Regions from separate parts of the Homo sapiens genome. Here regions 1 and 2 are each linked to region 3. Evidence: promoter capture Hi-C in 16 types of primary human blood cells and fetal thymus (Javierre and others, 2016). All regions are on one chromosome and are shown on one strand. The core of a region is centred on a gene start or on the middle of the fragment in contact, and the rest is flanking DNA. Distances in the headings are between cores, read along the strand shown. Region 1 overlaps CCDC186 (coiled-coil domain containing 186). Region 2 overlaps CCDC186 (coiled-coil domain containing 186). Region 3 holds the start of DCLRE1A (DNA cross-link repair 1A).

Region 1 (2,824 bases), core at 45-2,544, 270 kb after region 3:
TACTAATTTTACACTTACTCTACAGATCTTGATTTCAGGGGATTCTTTCCAATAGTTAACTCATTAAGTTACACGGCATAATTTAAGTGTACCAGAACTGTTAGAGCAATGGAAACCAATGCCTTGTGATGTGAAATATTCCATCACGCATGCTAACTTGATTAAATGCCATTTTAGTATCTTCTTATTGAACATACGTAGATGTGAAGGCTTCAGGCGGCAGCCTGCTGGGTACATGGGGTGCTTTGCCTGCACCCCTGGTTTAAGTCTTAAATGATGCCCCTTCCAAGCCATCATCCTGTCCCCATGCTCTTCCACTCCTACCTTTGACTGAAGCACAGATCATAACCCCTCCACTTCCGAGACTGGCCTTCAATGAGGAATTTAGGGCTTTCTCCATATTTTCTCTTCCCCAGCTTTGAGGGGTGCTTTTTCTTCCCTCCTCCTCAAGTTCCTTTTGCACCATCACCACCCAACACTTTCCATGACACTTCCTTGCTTTGGCCAGAAGCCATTAGGTAAGGTTGGAAAGTTTTCCTGACCTCCCTTGTTTAGTTTTGGAACCTCACTATTCACTCTCCACCAGGCTGGAAAACAAATATTGGGTCCTCAGTCCTGCCACTCTCTGCGGTCATCATCAGCTGATGCGTTGTTTTTAGCTCAGGTTTTGATAAAGTGAATTGTCTCCAGGGTTACTCAGACCTGCCAGCTCTCAAAGTCCTTGGTGGTTAAACTTGGAGAAAGACCACATGAAGACACTCATAAGCACACATAATCCCTCTGTAATATTTTTTTCTGTAATTGATTTTGCTTTTAGAAATTGAAGTTTTAAACAGGGCTGTCATTTGGTCATCCTTCCAATTCATTGGGGTCTAGTTTAAAATATGACAATTGGAACAAAATCTTGAATCCAGTGCATATTCTGGTTTTGGCATTGCGGTTGCTTCTGAAGATCCTCAGCAGGGATTGAGACCTTGGTGTGCACAGCAGACCCCTGAAATTGGTGGGCTTGACCTTCTGGCAAATTGCTTCGTTTTTCCACTTTCTGTTCAGGACCGCTACATGCTGAAATGTGGATGCATACAGAAATAAATGCAGTTCATTAGGTACTAAAGTTTTGTTTTTTTTAATTTGGTATTTGTGTAAATTCACCTTTTGAAGCAATAACTATCAAGTCTAAAAAGCAATTGATGTTTCCATTAACGTTTTTCTGGGGAAAAGTTAGTTCTAAGGATTTAACATCCTGTAACTGAAGTTTAACATAACAGTATCCCATAAGCAGTCTTTTTTATTGTCAGACTACTGCCAAATTTTAATTTTAAAAAGTGTACTTTTTTAAAAAAGTGTAAGTTAGAAATTAATAACAGAGCATCTCTACGGGGCAGAAACATCAAGTCTGGTCACACTATTCTCAGACAGTCATTAAAACTCAGCATTAGTATCAGTTAATCACAGAGGAACGCTCCTGAGTTGCTGCTCCTGAAGGAGCAGGTACTCATTCTGCATTCATTAACTTAAGCTGATTTTATTAAGAAAAAACAGACTTGGATATAAGTTCATCAGAATGGCCTTCCCATCTCATGACTGCAGGTCATACTGACCACGTGAATGGTACTTTGACATAGTTAATTGAATATAAAGGAGCCACTAAAAGCCTCTGCTCATAATTATCACCTCAAGTCACTACTCTCCTGCTACGTGGACCTAAATCAAGAACCACGGCTAGTATCTTTCCTTGATTTACCCTCTTTCCCTATATCTTCCTTTCTCTTGCGAACAAATCCACAGGCTACTGAAAGCAGACTGTTAAGTATGTTGGAAAACTTTCTTTACTAATTTTACACTTACTCTGCAGATCTTGATTTCAGGAGATTCTTTCCAATAGAGAACTCATTAAGTTATATGGCATAATTTAAGTGTACCAGAACTGTTAGAGCAATGGAAACCAATGCCTTGTGATGTGAAATATTTCATCCCACACATATTCACTTAATTGAATTAATGCTTTCAGTGTCTTCTTATTGAAAATACTTAGTTCTTTATTACTGAAGCTAGACTACATGGCAAGTGAGTTCTATAATTTTATGGAAAATCTGAATACATCACTGGCTTATCAAATAAGAAATTTTCACATACCTATAGGCCACAGAACCTTTTGTAAAAGGCTGATATGGTCTGGCTCTGTGTCCCCACTCAAATCTCATCTTGAATTGCAATCCCCATAATCCCCATGTGTCGAGGGAGGGACATGGTGGGAGGTGACTGAATCATGGGGACAGTTTCCCCCATGCTGTTCTCGTGGTAGTAAGTTCTCACAAGATCTGATGGTTTTATAAGTGTCTGCAAGTTCTTCCTCCCTCTTCTCTCTCTCACCTGCCACCATGTAAGATATGCCTGTTTCCTCTTCCACCATGATTGTAAGTTTCCTGAGGCCTCCCCAGCAACGCAGAACTGTGAATCAATTAAACCTCTTTCCTTTATAATTACCCAGTCTGGGGCAGTTCTTTACAGCAGTGTGAAAACCAATTAATACACAGGCTAAGTTTTGCTGTCAATAATTTAAACAAAAATTTAAAATACAACCCAGCATTCAACTTAATCTGCTTACTATTGTTCACTGACTTCCAATCATATTGATAGAATAAAGACAACTATAGAAAGCAAAAATTCCCAGTCTAGTTAAAAAAAGGAAATTGAAGCTATTTGAATCAGTCTTGCCAACAGTCTGAAGAATCAGTCTGTTTAGCAAATGGTGCATATAAACAAATAAAGATGCCATCAAACTACAAGTTGGTAAATAGGCATTACCTATTTAATAAGTACA
Region 2 (2,930 bases), core at 263-2,762, 290 kb after region 3:
TATATCAAATTATACTTCTGGTTCTAAAACTATTCATTTTACACTACTATATACATATTTTACCAAAATATAATCTTCCCTTGAGATGCAAATTTCTCCAACATACAGATTTTAAAAGAAAGTTTTTAGAAAGCTCAAGAAAAAGTTATCTAATAAACAACATGTGCCAACACTTATTTTTTCCCTAGCAAACCTTTTCTCTGCAGACAAGTAATAGAACACTTGAATTACTAAAAAATTCATGGTTTTAGAAGGTAAACTAATAAAAACAACTTTACGTTTGAGTGTTAACCATGTTAAATTATGATTATTTGATTAAATATGGAAAAGCAAAGAGAACAAATTTCAAATAAGGTCAACATATTTCAAATGGCACAAGTTATACCTTAGTTTCATACAGCTGGTGCAACCGTCCTTTCTCCTGAGAAAGCTGCTTAATTTTGTTAGTGTTTTTCTCAAGTTCCTTATTTGCATCTCTAAGTTTTTTCTCAAGTGTCTCTTTTTCCTTTCGAAGATCTAAAGATTCCTTCTCACCTCTTACATATTTCATTACCATTGCTTCTTTTTCTTGGCGTGCCTCTTCACATTTCTTGTTGGCCTTCAAAAAAAATATTACTTAGCATTAATGAAAAATAATGTTTCAAATGGAAATGTATTGAAATACATGGTATTTGTCTCTTATATTACCAATGCATTGTTTGGTTTTTGCACAACATTCCCAGGACTTGTGCCATGAAATTTTAAAATGAAAGAAAAAATTTAAAATTATAGAAAAATGGTACAATATCCCTAGCATTTGCCTTTACCCTTTCCTGTTCCTTTTACTTCGGCTAATATGGTTGCTATTTTCCACGTACTCCTCCAGATCCCCTTTCCCACTTTTTTTAAATCCCAACTGGTGTCCCAGGAACATGATGACATCATGAACCCTATCAATAAGCTCTCTTGCCCTCAAACTTCCAGTTGGGTTCACCCAACAGAAGGCAGTAGGCAGAAGCTTGGGAACGTAGGCAGAGTGAGATCTGGCTCCTCCAGAGTTCCCACAGGTTGGCTGATGGCCACTCCCCTTGTCAGGTGCCCTCTCTATACAACTACCCTCTGGGGTGTAATACCTGCTCCTTGTCCAGCAGCCCTGAAATTCTGCATCTTCCCTTTTTGGGATCCCTACATCTTGTCCACACCTTGACAAAGAATCTTTTTATTAAATTATCTTCATCACCGGTTTAAGTGTGCCATCTGTTTTCTGCCAGGACCCTGACTGTATAGCCGACAATTTCTAAAATCTTAACTCCCTTTCGAAAATTAAGTAGCCATATGCTAACAAATGACCATTTAATTTCCTATTTATGTAAAGCTTTCTGAAGCATTTTACACTTAATAAGAAATACCTAACTGGATTAAGTATGAAAACTATATACTCATTTAAAAATTTTCTATTAGTATGAACTGGTACTCCATATTCTGAAATTTCACAGAATGAAAACTTCTACAAATAGTCCTTCTTTGAAGTAACTCATGGTTTGCAAATATGGTGAAGCACACATTTAATTTACAAAAGATAGAACTTCAAACTTTAGGAATTTTCAATATCTTTTAGTGGTAAATAAACACTGATGATGCAACTGAATTGAAGAAGGTAACTATTAAAATAAAGTGAGCAGAATGTAGGGAAAGCTTCTATGCTTTGATGAAAAATGGCTGCAAAAATGTTTCATAAAATTCTGGCACTGCTGATAAGCACATCTAGTCAACACTGAGAATGCTATACATACACATATAAGTAATTTTAAAAATCTCCCAATTGGGATTTGTTTCCATTGAAATAGTCATACTAATTTTCAAATTAAGAAAGACATTGCATTAGGGATATGATAGGCCCCGAGGTTGTAACAATGTGCTTGTAGACAAAGACTGAGAAAGTTATGCTGGACTTGGCCAACAGAATTAGATTTTTAGACAACTGAATATCTGTACTTAGAAAAAGTCAATAGCTCAATGTCAACTTTAAGAGAAGTCTGGTTTCATAATAATTTAATATTCAGATAATGTATCATCTATTGGAAACAAAGTAGCAGTTGTGGCCTCTGAAAGAGCTCACCATCTAGTGAGAAAGGCATATAAACAAACATTATAATATGAAAAATTATAGTAAATGAATGTACAAAGTCCTTCAAAACATGAAAATACTTACATCCCCTGGGAGGAGTTGGCAGGAAGGGTAAAAGATGCTATACTTGAGCTAGGTATTAAAGGCTAAGCAGAATTCTATAGAATGTAAGGGGTGAATCAAGGAAAGGAATTAAAAATAGAGTGAATATCATGTGCAAACACCTAAAAGTATAAAACAGCATGACACATTTAGGAGATATCAAGTTATTTTATTGGGCTTAAATTTGGTGTGTTGGCTGGAGTGGGAAGAAAGTAGTTATAAAAACAAAAAGAGGTATAGATTAGATCCTCAAAGGAAGAAGAATTTCTGTCATGGTAATAAGTTGAGGTTTTATTCCATAGTCAACATAAAGCCAAAGAAGAATTTATAAATCAGAAGCTCTTATTAAAATGTGTGTTTTAGTAAGATAACTGGTAGCAGCATGGGAGCTTCACTGAAGTTGAGAGATAGGGGGTAGAAAATAATCAAAAAAAGACAGTTGTAATAGACAAGGTGAAATATTATGAGGGTCTTGGCTGGATGCAAGGAGTCATGCCTGTAATCCCAGCACTTTGGGAGACTGAGGTGAGCAGATCGCCTGAGCCCAGGAGTTTGAGACCAGCCTGGACAACATGGCAAAATCCCCTATCTACAAAAAAAACAAAAAACAAAATTAGCTGGGCATGGTGGTGTGCACCTGTAGTCCCAGCTATTTGGGAGGGCTAAGGTGGGAGGTCTCTTGAGCCCAGGAGGTTGAGGCTGCAGTTAGCCATGATTGCAC
Region 3 (2,776 bases), core at 131-2,630:
CTACGTTTTCTGCAGTCTTACCTGTTTCAGAGCGTGGTGGAGAATCCAAACATTCAAAAACATGCCATCGAGGTGTCTGCCCTATCAATGAGGAAAAAGGCATCTGGCAATTTGGACAGTATCCATCATAAACTGGACGTATCTTTGGGGACACGTGTTGGCTTTTTTGAGTTCTACAGAGTTTTCCTGGAGTAGTTTCCTTGTCTTGGGTCTGCTGAATACCATCTCCACAACTTGAATTCTGACTAGAAGCAACAGAAGTCTGACAACCTGCATTTCCAAGGGGCACTTCATGGTCCTTCACCTCTTTAGCTTCTGCGGCTCTTTTTCTGTTTCTACTCCGTTTTGACTGGTATTTTCCATCTGTTGCTTTTTCAACAGATTTTAGAATATTTTTAGAGCCATTATTTGGATCAACTCGTTTTGGTTTTCTTTTAGATTTGTATTCCCAAATGTCTTCTTCGGAAATGTCTTCTAACATGGCAAAATGATTTTATCATTCAAGAAGTATTAATCTTAAGTAAACTGAAAGTCCATTTCTTGTCACAAACAAAAAGTTATAGAATTATTTTGCTGAGAAAAAAAACAAAGGTAACAAAACCCCCACCAACTCAATGGGAATCTGCAGTGTTGGTAATGAACATATTGGCAAGCTACAAACCTTGTACCTGACAACACCTGCTATTCCATTTATACCACAATGAAACTAAGATAAACCTATCACAGGAGTAGCAACTGTGAAGTTCTCCATTATGGGTGCTATTTCATTCAAATATCTTGTCCTTTTCCAGGGCTTGATTCATAAAAATAATACTTCAAAAATTAAGCGCTAATGGCAAATATAGGTTCAACAGCTTAATCTTAGAACGAGATTTGTAACATTGTTATGAAGCTACTGTCAGTTCTTTCAAGTGGACAACCGTCCAAATAATTCATAAATCCAACCACAGTCCCTGGACAAAGGGCTTAACAGGTATCCCAAACACTAAATGACTATCTAACAAAACTAGTCACAACATAATCAAAGAGATGTGTAATTCGCAAAAAACTGCGAAGTCACTGCCCTCATCCACGACTAGTGGATACTCAACCACTTCAGTTTCCCGCGACAGTCCATGATCTTCCTCCAGCAGCAATGAACAATCCCTGCACAGTGAACAAAAAAAGTTGATATGTGAAAAAAGTTCAAATATGTGAAAGAGTGGGCTTGTATTGAGGTCTGACTCCGTATTGCACCCATGGTTCCGAAGGTGGCCAGCCCTCTGTCCACCTGACTCAAAACGGGGTCACACGCCAGCCTCTCCCTTATCTTTTGGCATTAGAGGCTGGGAGGCCAGGAAGCGGGGCCTTAATCATCTCCAGGTTAAGCATAGCGAGCTCCAAAAAGCCCTCAGAGTCCTGCCCTTCTGAAGACTCTAAGGCCCGCCCTCAAGGACCCTCACCGCCCCCCACCTGCCACTCGGCACCCCAAGGGAGCCGCTCCAGCTGCATCCGCTCCTCCCGGCACCCCCATCTAAAAATGTGTTCGCGCCCGCACTTTCAGCACTCCCAGATGACAAAACGCTGTGTTTGTGTATAAGTGAAAGCCACTCGCGCCAGTCACTTCCAGTTTACAAAGCCTTCTCTCTGGAGGTTATCCCTACCCGCTTTACCTTTAGGGTCTTGGCGGGAACAAGTTCCCGCTGCCAGTGCCGTGTCGAATCGGCGGATGCTGTTCAAAGAGAGAGACTTTAAAAATAATTTTTAAAAATACATTGCCCTTTTAAGTCCTACGGATTTATTGTATTTTATTTGTGTTCGAAAGTCCGCTAATTCCCAATGTGGAGGGTTGGGGATGTTTCCCTTAGCGCCTCTGGGACGCTGTCCCTAAGGCCTTATTCCATGTTGAATCTGACGCTCTCAATGTCCAGGCTCGGCTGCGGCGTGGGGACCGAAAAGGGGCGGGGTGGGTCGGACGGCAGTTTAATTACGTCCCCGGGAACTGCGCCGATTTGGACTTTTGGCACTTGGACCTATGCTTTAAAAAGAAAAAAGTGTCATTGGCGTGGAGTGGGGCTAGTGGAGGGTGAGGTGAATGCGCCGTTTGGAAACCACAGGACAGTGAACGTTTCGTCTCTCCCAGCGAGACTCTCCCGCGGGCCCGGCGGCCGCATCGGGAGCCCGGCGGAAACATGGCGGCGCCCGGAGGCCGGGGCCGCAGCCTCTCCGGCCTGCTCCCCGCGCAGACCTCGCTAGAGTACGCCCTGCTCGACGCCGTTACCCAGCAGGAGAAGGACAGCCTGGTCTACCAGTATCTGCAGAAGGTGGACGGCTGGGAGCAGGACTTGTCAGTACCCGAGTTTCCGGAAGGTGAGGGGCTGGCGTCGGGGTGGGGGCCCCTCCCGGCACCTCCCCTTCCTCGGGGACGGCGCCCTCCCGCGAAGCGGTGGGCTAGGCGGGTTTGTGCCGCTGGCGCCCCGGGGAGTGGCCCTTCGCCTAACTTGGGCCGCTGTTCGCGTGTTCTGCAATTCCCAGGGGTCCCCAAGCGGCCACCGACGGGGGTTTCCCTGGCACGGGGATCCACATACTCGTCTGTGTATCCTGAGTTCCGCCCGCGCCTGATATTAGCCAAGTGGACACTCCGTGAATATTTAGTGTCCCCGGTGGCAATGATTGCAACGTCCACACCATTCTGTCCATTCAATCTGGTTCCCCAGTGTCTTCTGGTCATCTTTCTGCATCATCTTGACATTTATTGATCACTTTTTCATGTATCACACACAGGGTTTTTTTTTGT

Evidence for each region. Contacts are between HindIII fragments. The CHiCAGO score rates a contact against its expected background, and 5 or more counts as called.
Region 1: a fragment that was not itself captured here is called in contact with the fragment with the promoter of DCLRE1A in region 3 in 1 of 17 cell types (monocytes); the score reaches 7.8 in monocytes.
Region 2: a fragment that was not itself captured here is called in contact with the fragment with the promoter of DCLRE1A in region 3 in 1 of 17 cell types (naive B cells); the score reaches 5.5 in naive B cells.

Annotation. Positions count from the first base shown.
Region 1 is chr10:114,118,072-114,120,895 of GRCh38, forward strand. It overlaps CCDC186 (coiled-coil domain containing 186), which reads right to left. Exons shown (of 16, transcript NM_018017.4): 16 at 2,791-2,824. Among named protein-coding and RNA genes, the nearest start is that of MIR2110, 55 kb to the right of the region's middle. The HindIII fragment of the contact is 5,049 bases long and covers 1-2,824 here.
Region 2 is chr10:114,145,164-114,148,093 of GRCh38, forward strand. CCDC186 (coiled-coil domain containing 186) reads right to left here. Exons shown (of 16, transcript NM_018017.4): 5 at 386-598. Among named protein-coding and RNA genes, the nearest start is that of MIR2110, 28 kb to the right of the region's middle. The HindIII fragment of the contact is 320 bases long and covers 1,353-1,672 here.
Region 3 is chr10:113,852,702-113,855,477 of GRCh38, forward strand. DCLRE1A (DNA cross-link repair 1A) reads right to left here and starts at 1,381. Exons shown (of 9, transcript NM_014881.5): 1 at 22-1,381. The coding sequence starts at 481. It overlaps NHLRC2 (NHL repeat containing 2), which reads left to right and starts at 1,960. Exons shown (of 11, transcript NM_198514.4): 1 at 1,960-2,349. The coding sequence starts at 2,172. RefSeq lists a silencer at 2,070-2,429 and an enhancer at 2,440-2,776. The HindIII fragment of the contact is 6,407 bases long and covers 1-2,776 here.